Regions from separate parts of the Homo sapiens genome. Here region 2 is linked to region 1. The links are contacts of gene promoters, found by promoter capture Hi-C in blood cells and fetal thymus (Javierre and others, 2016). All regions are on one chromosome and are shown on one strand. The core of a region is centred on a gene start or on the middle of the fragment in contact, and the rest is flanking DNA. Distances in the headings are between cores, read along the strand shown.

Evidence for each region. The method cuts DNA at HindIII sites, captures the fragments that hold promoters and counts their contacts. A CHiCAGO score of 5 or more calls a contact.
Region 2: a contact is called between a fragment that was not itself captured here and the fragment with the promoter of NDFIP2 in region 1, in 1 of 17 cell types (activated CD4 T cells). The highest score is 5.5, in activated CD4 T cells.

What each region holds. Positions count from the first base shown.
Region 1 is chr13:79,478,940-79,484,213 of GRCh38, forward strand. It overlaps NDFIP2 (Nedd4 family interacting protein 2), which reads left to right and starts at 2,216. Exons shown (of 8, transcript NM_019080.3): 1 at 2,216-2,585. The coding sequence starts at 2,265. It overlaps NDFIP2-AS1 (NDFIP2 antisense RNA 1), which reads right to left and starts at 2,292. Exons shown (of 3, transcript NR_046685.1): 1 at 2,213-2,292; 2 at 897-991. The HindIII fragment of the contact is 10,753 bases long and covers 1-4,791 here.
Region 2 is chr13:79,358,970-79,364,243 of GRCh38, forward strand. RBM26 (RNA binding motif protein 26) reads right to left here. Exons shown (of 22, transcript NM_001366735.2): 10 at 606-717. Among named protein-coding and RNA genes, the nearest start is that of RBM26, 45 kb to the right of the region's middle. The HindIII fragment of the contact is 4,955 bases long and covers 1-4,347 here.

The DNA of each region.
Region 1 (5,274 bases), core at 966-3,465:
TCTGTCATCACCTACTAGTGATTTGGCATTAGCCAAGTTCATGAAACTCCTTGTGCCTTATTTTCCCCCCTCATCTGTTAACCAAGGAGTGCAACTGTGCCTATATCATGAAGTTCTGGTGAGGCTAAAATAATAGATGTATAGTACTGGCTTAGAAAGGGCTCTATACTAGTAAGCTGTTGTTCTACTTCTCCTTCCCCTCTTTCTCTTCCTCATTACAAATACGCTTTCCTGCTGAATTTGTTACTCCACTAGATTAGCAAAATGTTCAGAGAATCTGGGAGGAGGGTAAAATAGAAAGAATCTGTTACTCTATCAGGATTCAAGATGTCTGCTTTTGGTCAGATCTTTGATTTTTACTTTTATGTTCTCAGTGCTGCATTGGGTGTAAGAAATGGTCTCTGCCCTGAGCAGCCATCTATTTGAGAAACAGATGAACACATGAATGATTAATGAAAACACATATGCATATAAAATTAAGTTCTAAATAAATCTTATAGATCGTAAGTGATATAAGGATCTAATTTCAGTTTGCTGATACTGGCTGTTGTTTTGGTCATCGAGAGGCAATACCATTTGGAGTGAAATTGTGAGAGTGAGCGTTTGTACCAGTAATACCAATAAAATGGCATATGTTTATTGGCTTAGAAACTAAAATACATTAAGATCAAAACAAGGCAAGTTTAACAATATTTAAGTATGAGATATCACTGCCTCTTATTGTTAGCACAGTAATGCTTTATGCTATTAGACATGTCAAAACGGCACAAATAGGAAGAGTTGATGAATGCTTTAAAAAGAACTATGAGGAAGGCTTACATTTTTTAGTTGTCAATCTCTCAAAGAGTTTCTGTTTTTATTCTATCTTGCTATTTTAACCAGTTGATTAGGCTCACCCAGTGGCAGTCTTCATTTCAAGGATCTCCTCTGGACATTCATGAAGGAAATAAATGGGGCTCCAGATCCCTTTCCTTCCCTTCAGGGCGCTCCACTGTAAGATCATTTAGGGAAAATGTGGTGTTATGTTAAAAACATAGCTGGGCCACATCAAGCAGCATCATAGTTTTTAGGGTATAGAACGTTGGTCTTCAGGTTAAAAGGTACTTTTCGCTGCTCTGTCATACTCTTCTACTTGCTAGAGAAATATGCTTTATGCCGTGTCATGTGTGGTTAACCAGACAGTGAGATACTACTAACAGTGCTCCCAAGTGATTCCTTGCTGTTAAATCAATTGGAATTATTGAGTATTACCACAAAATAATCCTATCTGATTTCATTACTTTCTTCTAACGTCCTTCCAGTAACCTAGAACTCTAGAGACCTCTTTCTTTGAGAGTTGTCTGGAGAGTCCGTTGGATTTTTAAATCTCTTATTACCAAAAAGTGGAAAAAAGAGTTTAAAAAGTAACCAAAGAGCTAGTGCCTGTAGTCTCAGCTACTCCAGAGGCTGAGGCAGGTGGATAGCTTGGGCCGAGGAGTTCGAGGCTACAGTGAGCCATGACTGCGCCTGCTAACAGCCACTGCACTCCAGTCTGGGCAATATAGTGAGACCCCATCTCTAAAAAAACAACAAACAAAAACAAAAATTACCCCACAGAAGAATTTCAGGGCAGTGGAAATACTCTGTAGGATACTATAATGATGGATACCTGCCATTACACATTTGTTCTAACTCGAGGAGTATACAACAACCTGAGTGAACCCTGAGGTAACTATGGACTTTGAGTGATGATGAGGTGTCAATGCAGGTTCATCAGTCGTAACACATGTACCACTCTGAGGGGGGATGTTGATAATGGTGGGGGGTTATGCATGCGTAGGAGCCAAGTGTATATGGGATATCTCTGTAACTTCTCAATTTTTCTGTAAACTCTAACTACTCTATATTAGTCTTTAAAAAATCGCTTATCTTACGAATGATTTTGAATAAGCGTTTTGGGAATGTTCTAGAGATGAATCTCCTCCCCATGTCCTACGCTGGGTGAGGAAGTGTCGGGTACCCGGGCGACCTGTCCTCAGGTGTTCTAGGAACGCGGCCCCATCCCTTGTCAGCCTCTGTCTCTGTGTGGTGAGAAGGCGCACTGGCTCGTGCCTGCGCGAAACTCGCGCACACAGAAAAGACCAATCAAGGACGGGTCATTCCCGCCCCCCGCGCGCCTTTTGCGACCGCCCACTCGACAGGTTGACAACCTAGACAGCTCCCCCGGACTTGCCTTACTTTTCCATCTCCTCCCACCCAGCTATACCCTCCCACTGGCGGCGCGGATGGCACGCCGGCGGAGCCAGCGAGTCTGCGCGAGCGGTCCGAGCATGCTCAATAGCGCGCGCGGCGCCCCGGAGCTTCTCCGCGGAACCGCGACCAACGCGGAGGTCTCGGCGGCCGCTGCGGGAGCCACAGGAAGTGAAGAGCTTCCGCCGGGAGACCGCGGCTGCAGGAACGGAGGCGGAAGGGGCCCTGCGGCGACGACGTCGTCGACGGGGGTGGCCGTGGGAGCTGAGCACGGAGAAGACTCCCTCTCTCGGAAGCCGGATCCCGAGCCGGGCAGGATGGATCACCACCAGCCGGGGACTGGGCGCTACCAGGTGGTGAGTTCCCGGCCTCCTGTGCCTCCCGGGACTGCCTCCCGCCGCGGCGTCCCGAGAGTCCCTTTCCTCAGGTTATTCCCGGAGGAAAAGCTGTGGCTTTTTTTTGTTGTGTTTTGTTTTGTTTTTTTGGATCTTCTGGCTGGAGCTGCTTCACTCGCCTCACCTGCGCACTCCTGCCTAGGACTCCTTCGAAACCCTTCTCTCTCGCCCCAAGTCTGCTTAGCTCCTCACCCGCACCCTTAGCCCCGCTGTGAGACGCCCTCCCTCCACACACCTTACAACTTGTATCCGTTTTAATTTCTCACTTTATCATTTTCTTATTCTCTGACTCAGTCACTCCTGAGACATTCTAGTCGATTGTCTACTGGAAATGGGGCTGACTTCACATACCTGCCCGGAAGGTGATCGCCGTCATAAATGGGGTGGGTGAGTAGGTGGGTGGAGGTGTAAGTACTGCGTGGGGTGGGATGTGGATTTGGCAAAAATGTGGGTTAGGAATTGTGGAACTGTAGAGAAAGACTAGCCATAATGCTGATCTTGTCTCTCTGCTCGTTAACCTTGTCATTTTGTCCTTTTCCATTATGTTAGTATTAAAAATGACTGTATTTTTTGGTAATCCCCACTTTTTCTTTCTTTCTTTCTTTCTTTTTTTTTTTTTTTTTTTTTTTTTTGGTTAGAGGGGAAACAGAGGTAGTTTTAGTAGAACAAATTCTAATCTTGTTTGAAAAATTATTTTTCGTTAAATACAAGGTTTTCCAGCTTAACTGTGTAAACTTTGGTAACTATGTTGAAAAAAGTGAAATGTGTTCCTCTATATTTTCAGTGTCAATTTTTAAATATATTTTTCTTTGTGTATTCTGGTGGTGACGTTGGAGATTCCTGTTGTAAACCTTAGTTAAAGATGGACTGAGCAATAGTTGACTCTGCTGTTGTGCTGTTGCAGCTAGGTAGCATGTCATTCTACAAACTTTCAGCCCATTTACTGAGGGAGAGGAGAAAAACAATACATAGCACTGGTGATGCAGTTTATGGTTTATAAAATTTTACAAATTTAGGTATGTTAGTCCCAGGTTTCAACTTTCAAATCTATTTGCACATGTAAGACAGGTTATAAGCCAAGACTTTCTATTAATAAGTACATTTTGGCAAATATGAAGGAACTGTAAGATGAGATCCTAAAGTATGTAATTTTGCATTTTTCTAAGATAAAAGCTCATGAGGCTTCCATTTTCAATTGGTTTGCATTCCTTAAAACCTACAAAAGGTCCATATTCCGAATTCTTTGAAAATTTATCAGCTTTTCTCAACAACTTGGGAAATACTGTTTCTCCCAGTATGGAAAGCGTTTTTCAAGTTGTCAGTGTACACCCTTTTGATGGTTTGAAAGGCATTTCTAGGTTTGTAAATGTTAGCAAAAATAAAATGATATAAATATTGAATAATATCAGCAGTGAAACTTGTTTCATTTTTCCTACAGACGTCACTACCCAAAACACTGTTAATTTATGTAGCTCTCAGTTTTAAGATATTTGTTTTCCCAACAACTCCTTTCAAAATAAATGGGCATATTTTATTGCTGCCCCCTCCCCTCGTTTTTTTCAAACTGACGATGTGTCCTACATAGACTTTGAATGTTCCTTGAGAACAGAGGGCAAAAATCAGTTCTTCTAAAGATAAAGCCTACCAGTCCCTCTAAAGGTAGTACTTTAGGTAGGACATCGATCTGTTCTCCTTGTAAGGCAACTTACAACTAACATTGTAAGGCAATGTTAGTGTTAGAGTTACACAATTTACGTAGTCATTTAACCTATCTAGTATAACTCTTGGTTTTGTTTATAATGGCCTGATTAATAACATCAGTGTATGCCAGAGAAAAAGCTGAATTGACATTTTCAATAGACTTTTTAAACTAGGGATCAGTCTTCAGCTCTGGCTTATATGATGAACACAACTATTTTGTGGTTGCCTTTAGCTCAGTTTTTGGGAAAACTGGAATGCTTAATAAACTGGAGCAATAAACCACTTGAGTTGTTGAATGTTAAGGGATGACTAAGTCAGGAGATAGGCAAGTATACTTAGGGGTGAGATGGTATGCAATGTTAATTTTTCACTTACTTAAAGAGTTTAAAAACAGCTTTTCATACTGGAAAGCTAGCAGTGATGCTCAGGGTCATCAGAAGGACTTACTACCATTAGCCAATGCACAAGCTTTATCTAGAAACTGCTTTTTCTGTGATCTCTTCTTTCCTTTCATTGTTAAAAGCATCCAAAATTTATTGAGTAAAGCAGTGGATAACAGTTTAGAGCTACAAAAATTCTTGATTGTTACCCTTCTAATTTCAGAAAAAGCCAGGTATGACACGTAATTTTATGGGAAATTCAGTTTTGTTTGTTAGTAAATGAGCAGTGTTGCTAACTATGACGAAGTTGACTTGGCTTGCAGCTGCTAGACCACATTCTAACTTTGATGTTCGTTATTTTATTATTTATTTATTTATTTATTTTTATTTTTTGAGATGGAGTGTCTGTCACTCAGGCTGGAGTGCAGTGGCGTGATCTCGGCTCACTGCAACATCCGCCTCCTGGGTTCAAGTGATTTTCCTGCCTCAGCCTCCTGAGTCACTGGGACTACAAGTGTGGTGCACCACACCTGGCTAATTTTTGTATTTTAGTAGAGATGGGGTTTCAG
Region 2 (5,274 bases), core at 620-3,119, 120 kb before region 1:
TTAAATCACAGAATTAATCACAAACAACTAGAAACTATCCATTATTAAGTAGATGTTAAAGCTCTAAAAGTGATCCTAGTCTCTCTTCACAGATTTATTTATAAATGAATCACCTCACACATATCTTAACATTCTGATTCCTTACCCCTTTATCTGAAGCTCTTTCTTGACCATTCAATGCCTAGACAGCCTCTCCAACCCCCACAAAAGCCCTTTCTAGCTCCTACCTAGCAGGAACTGCCTACATATGAAAGTCTCTTGACAGGTCTGATCTATACCTCCTTCCTCTAATGATGAGAGGCTCATGACTATCCTGTATATAGCTAGTATTCAACAGGTCTAAGTTAAAGAGTGGGTTTTTTGGAGGAGGGTAAATGATAAGAGGAAAAAATTATGCCCTGAACTACCACACCATTTCTGTAAGAAAATGCTTTTCTAACATCAGACAACTAACTTGCCAATTTTTAGAAAACTCACACTTGGGGATTGCTTACAGAACAGAGTAACATTTTTGGAAGAAACCAAACCATATTGTCATAATAATACAGAAATGATCCTGAAAATCAATGCACAATTATACTCCTCAATTTTCCTGGCCACCTTACTTATCAAACCAAGTCTTCTTTGTAGGAACTCCAGGCTCTCCAGAACCAATGGTTCTTTTCCTTGATTCTGAGTCCACTACTATCCTCATACTGCTTTTATTGGGAGGCTTTTCTGTTTTAAAACAAAAGAAAATGAAAAAAATAAGCATAGGTTAATATTTTCTATTTATCATAGATACCTTCCTCATACAGGAAAATTTCTGGCTTTTGTCTAAATATATATATATATATATAATTTTTTTTTTAGAAGAAATAGAAATAAATGTATAGTAGCTCCCCCTTATCCAGTTTCATTTTTACGATTTCAGTTATCTCTAGTCAACCACAGTCCAAAATTATGGAAAACTACAGAAATAGTAAACAATTCCTAAGTTTTAAACTGCCTGCAGTTCTGAGTAGTGTGATAAAATCTCACACCATCCTGCTCCAACACTTGATCTCATCATGTAGGCATTTTATCATCCCCTATCATCCCAAGAAGGGTAAATACAAAAAGATATTTGACAGAGAAAGACAGGGACCATTCACATAACTTTTATTATAGTATATTGTTATAATTATTTCATTTTATTATTAGACATTGTTGTTTAGCTCTTACTGTGTCTAATTTATAAGTGAAACTTTATCACAGGTGTGACTGTATAGGAAAAAGCATAGTATATGTAGGGTTTGGTACTCTGTGGTTTTACACACGAGGAGTCTTGGAACATATCACCCACAGACAAAGGGGAATTACTGTACATTCAAATACAGTAATCTAAGGGTTTTTTCAAACTTATTTCAACATATTCATTTCACAATTAACTATGAAAAAGAATCAATTCTCACATGCCAAATTAAAATGTGATTCTGTAGGTCACTTCTTTGTAGATAAAACCCAAGTCATTGTTCCCATCTACCATCACCCTCACCACAAATATATATATATATATCAATGCACAAATGAGAAAATAATCACTTTGAGGCTTTAAGTTCATAGTTTTGAAATCAAATGCACAATCTAAAAGATTCAAAACTTTACACTAATCCAATAATCTTTGAGAAGTGAAAGGTTAGAGTTATGATTGAAGTGAGCTGCTTTTAAATATGGAATAGACTCATAAAATATGAATGTAATGAAAGCATACTTGCTTTAAAAAAGGAAAAGATTCAAGTCTAAAATACAGTGTAAAAGAGCTGTAAAAGTCTGTTACTTTCAACATTTTATATTTACTTACATGGCATGTAATGAGCATAGTACATTTAACCTGTTATTCCCAAATGACTCCAAAGTTTAAAACATGCAAACCTTAATCCACATAGAAAAATGTAACTTAAAAACTCCTTTTTTATAGATGGCAAAATTGATTTGTCTAAAATCCTATTTTTACATATTTCTAAACACCTAACTAACCAAAAGAACTGAAGATCTGTTTCAGCACAATATCTCTCATGGCCACAGCTATGGTCTCCTGCAGGAGGAGAGCATATACTCAATTCTAAATTTTCAACTTCTTTGTTCTCTCTGGAAATCCTACAGGTATCTCAAAACTCACTATGCAGAACGTTCAAATTATTTTCATATTAAGTCTATCTTTTATTTTTCTTAAACATTTCTATTAATGAAACTACCATTTTCCCAATCATCCCAGTCAAGTCATATTTGATATATGACTACCCACATATGCCATACATACAGAGACTCAAATCAACGCTCTAGACTCCTGCTGCTTTCCTCCATTTTCAACCTTTCCCAGGACACTGATACCTCCCATCAACATTCAAACATTACAGCTCTAATTACTCCATTTTAAAAAAAAGAAACTCTCGTAAAACCAGTTTTCCCTTTAGCAACAACATCTCTCTCCATACTCCCACAGCCCTTTCCTAATCAATGTCCACACTTACTAACTTTGCTTCCTTAACACCCACTCACTAATCCTCTGAAAACTGGCAGTTGCTCCCATTACTTCACTTTACTTGCTCGTGCTAAAATCACTCATGTCCTCACCTGTTGCTTAAGCCTATGAATACATCCCAGTCCTCTTACTGGACCTCTCAGGAGAATTTGCGGCTGTTGATCATCTTCTTTTCCATCTTAGGTATTATATTCCCTGGGTTTTTAGGAATCCCCACTCCTTGCTTTTGTCTGCAGCTTTTGGGCTTCATTTCTAAGTTTTCTATAAAGTTCTCCTTTCTCTGTCCATTTACTTTGATGCTGACATTTGTCAAGTAGTTATACTTGGGTTTTCTCATCTCACTTTACATAGCCTTCCTAAAATAACTTTCTTATCTACTGCCATGGCTTCATTCATCTTTTTCAGTGATTCTCAGTGGGGATGGGGAGAGGAAGATTTTAGAAACGCACGAGAAAGGTTTTTAAAATTATGTTAAGTCAGACCTACAGATTTTGGTATGGCTCCTTCTATCTCCCTTTACCTCCCACTGGTACTAATGGGACAGAAGAAAAGATTAAGGACCAAAGTTCTACATATGCATGATTCCAAAATCTGTATATTCTAGTCAACTGTCTCTCATGGGCCTCAGACTTCCATATCCTATTTCCCACTGGACATTTCTACTCAAATGCCCCAGGGGGACAAGAAGTTAAACACTTTCAAAACTAAATTTATCTTTCTGTCAAAGCTGTCCTTCTCAATGAATGATATTATCATCTGCCCAATTATCCAGGGCAGGAAACGGGTGTCTAATTTCATCCACTTATTACCCCTATTCTAAGCCTCCAAATTAAATAAGTTACAAGTTTTGTCAATTCTTTCCACTAAACTTATTTTTTTCATTTCTATTATTACCCTAGCCCAGCTACTATCACCTCTATTCTAAAATTCTGTAAATGCTTTTAATTAGCCTCTTACCTCCCTCTACATTACTTACTTCTTCTCTTACAGTCACAAAATTCCTTCAGTTTCTCAAAAGTATCACAGGGTACATAGGCTGTATCTATTCTCTTCCTCTGTCTAACTCTGACTTATCCTACATCTCTAGGAAACATCCTGTATCTAGCACGTGCGATGTTTCTCTGTCCAGTGGTACCTTCCAAGGACCGGTTCTGCAAAAGGATTTTTGGTCTTATTCCTGTCTCCCAAGTCTGGTTCACCAGCCCTTTTGGAGAATCTGTGACCTATCCAACATCTTTTGTTTTTTACTTTAATATGTTCCGTACCTGAAGGTTCACTAAGAGAGGGAATAATGTGTTTTGCCTCCAGTAATTGAAATGGGTTTGCTCCATCTCATCTGTATTCTCTAATTCGGAATCCCTTTCATTGATATATATTTAAAAGAAGGGTATTAAAAACACAGAAGCAAGTTCCTCTTGGTATATACTCAGCAAATGATCTAATATTAAATAGTTTTATGTAATGTATTTTTCCCCAATAATCATTTTAATGAATTGTTTTTCTGCCTAAAATTGTCAGCACTGGTTTTGTTGACTAGAAATGGAAAACTACTTAACCCTTCCTCCTCCCTATATCCAATCATGACATCATCCATCAAGTTTTCCACCTCCTTAGAACTCTGCAAAAAATAACTGTCAGGGCCTCTAGGTAACTTTTACATTAGTAATTTCAATGCATCAAAGGGCCCAAATTTCTTTCCTTTTGCTGAATAATTGCCCTCAAAATTTAAAGCAGTAAGCATAAAAGTTTAACTATCACATAATAATAAGTCTATGACAAATTTAAATTAAGGCCATCTATAGGCTATTAGGAACGTGTAATAATTATATAATTAACAATAAATAAGCTTTTTATGTATCTGTCACAATCCAGGACAGTAAATTTAAAATCCAAACTGGGAATAGATGAGAACACATGGTGGGAGGAGGGAGAGGACTAAAAAGAGATAAGAAAACAGAAGGACTAAAGGCAATCCTCAATTTGGATGGGTTGCTAAATCAGTTGTTTGGTACATAAAATCACTGTTATTAATGGAAAAATCAATCCTAAACTAGCTAACAAAAATGGTACATGATGTATCTAAAGAAGAGTACTAAAATAATCACTATGTACAATAATGATTCTATGAGAAAAAGCATTCAAATTTCTAAGTAGGTATGACAGACATTTCTCTCTCAACAGGATCACTTTCTGTAACAATATGCATTAAGAGCTGAAATTACCACACATCCAACTTGTACATGGTAAGATTTAAATGCAAGGGGTTTGATCCCCTTGCTTCTCTTGATCACAACCAGAAATTGCCCTAGCATGTGAATGGATCTAATAAATATTGACCTGTAGTAGCATGTATTTACAGCTCCAAAGCAGCAAGGTAGAAAGAAATGACTTTAGTGGGAATCCCCAGTAAAATGTTAATTGAAGTGGAAATTCCCACTACAAGGTTCCCAGTAAAAGCAAGGAATATTGGTATGAGGAAAACAAACTACATGCTAAATAGTTATCCAAAGAAGAAAAGAGGGTTTCTGTGAACTAGCCAGGTGGGAGACAGGTTCAGGATATAGGTAAACATCACACAACAGTTAAAATCTTAAGTGGCCACTTTTCAATTACAAGGAATCCATATATCCCTCACATACAAGCTGTTAAAAAAAATCTTTTTTCTATTGTTGTTAATAATAGCTATTGAAATTCCTCAAAGAGAATTTAAGAGGAATGGGTATCCACATTAAATGTTGTCCTATGATCTAAAAGAGGATATAAATCTGAAT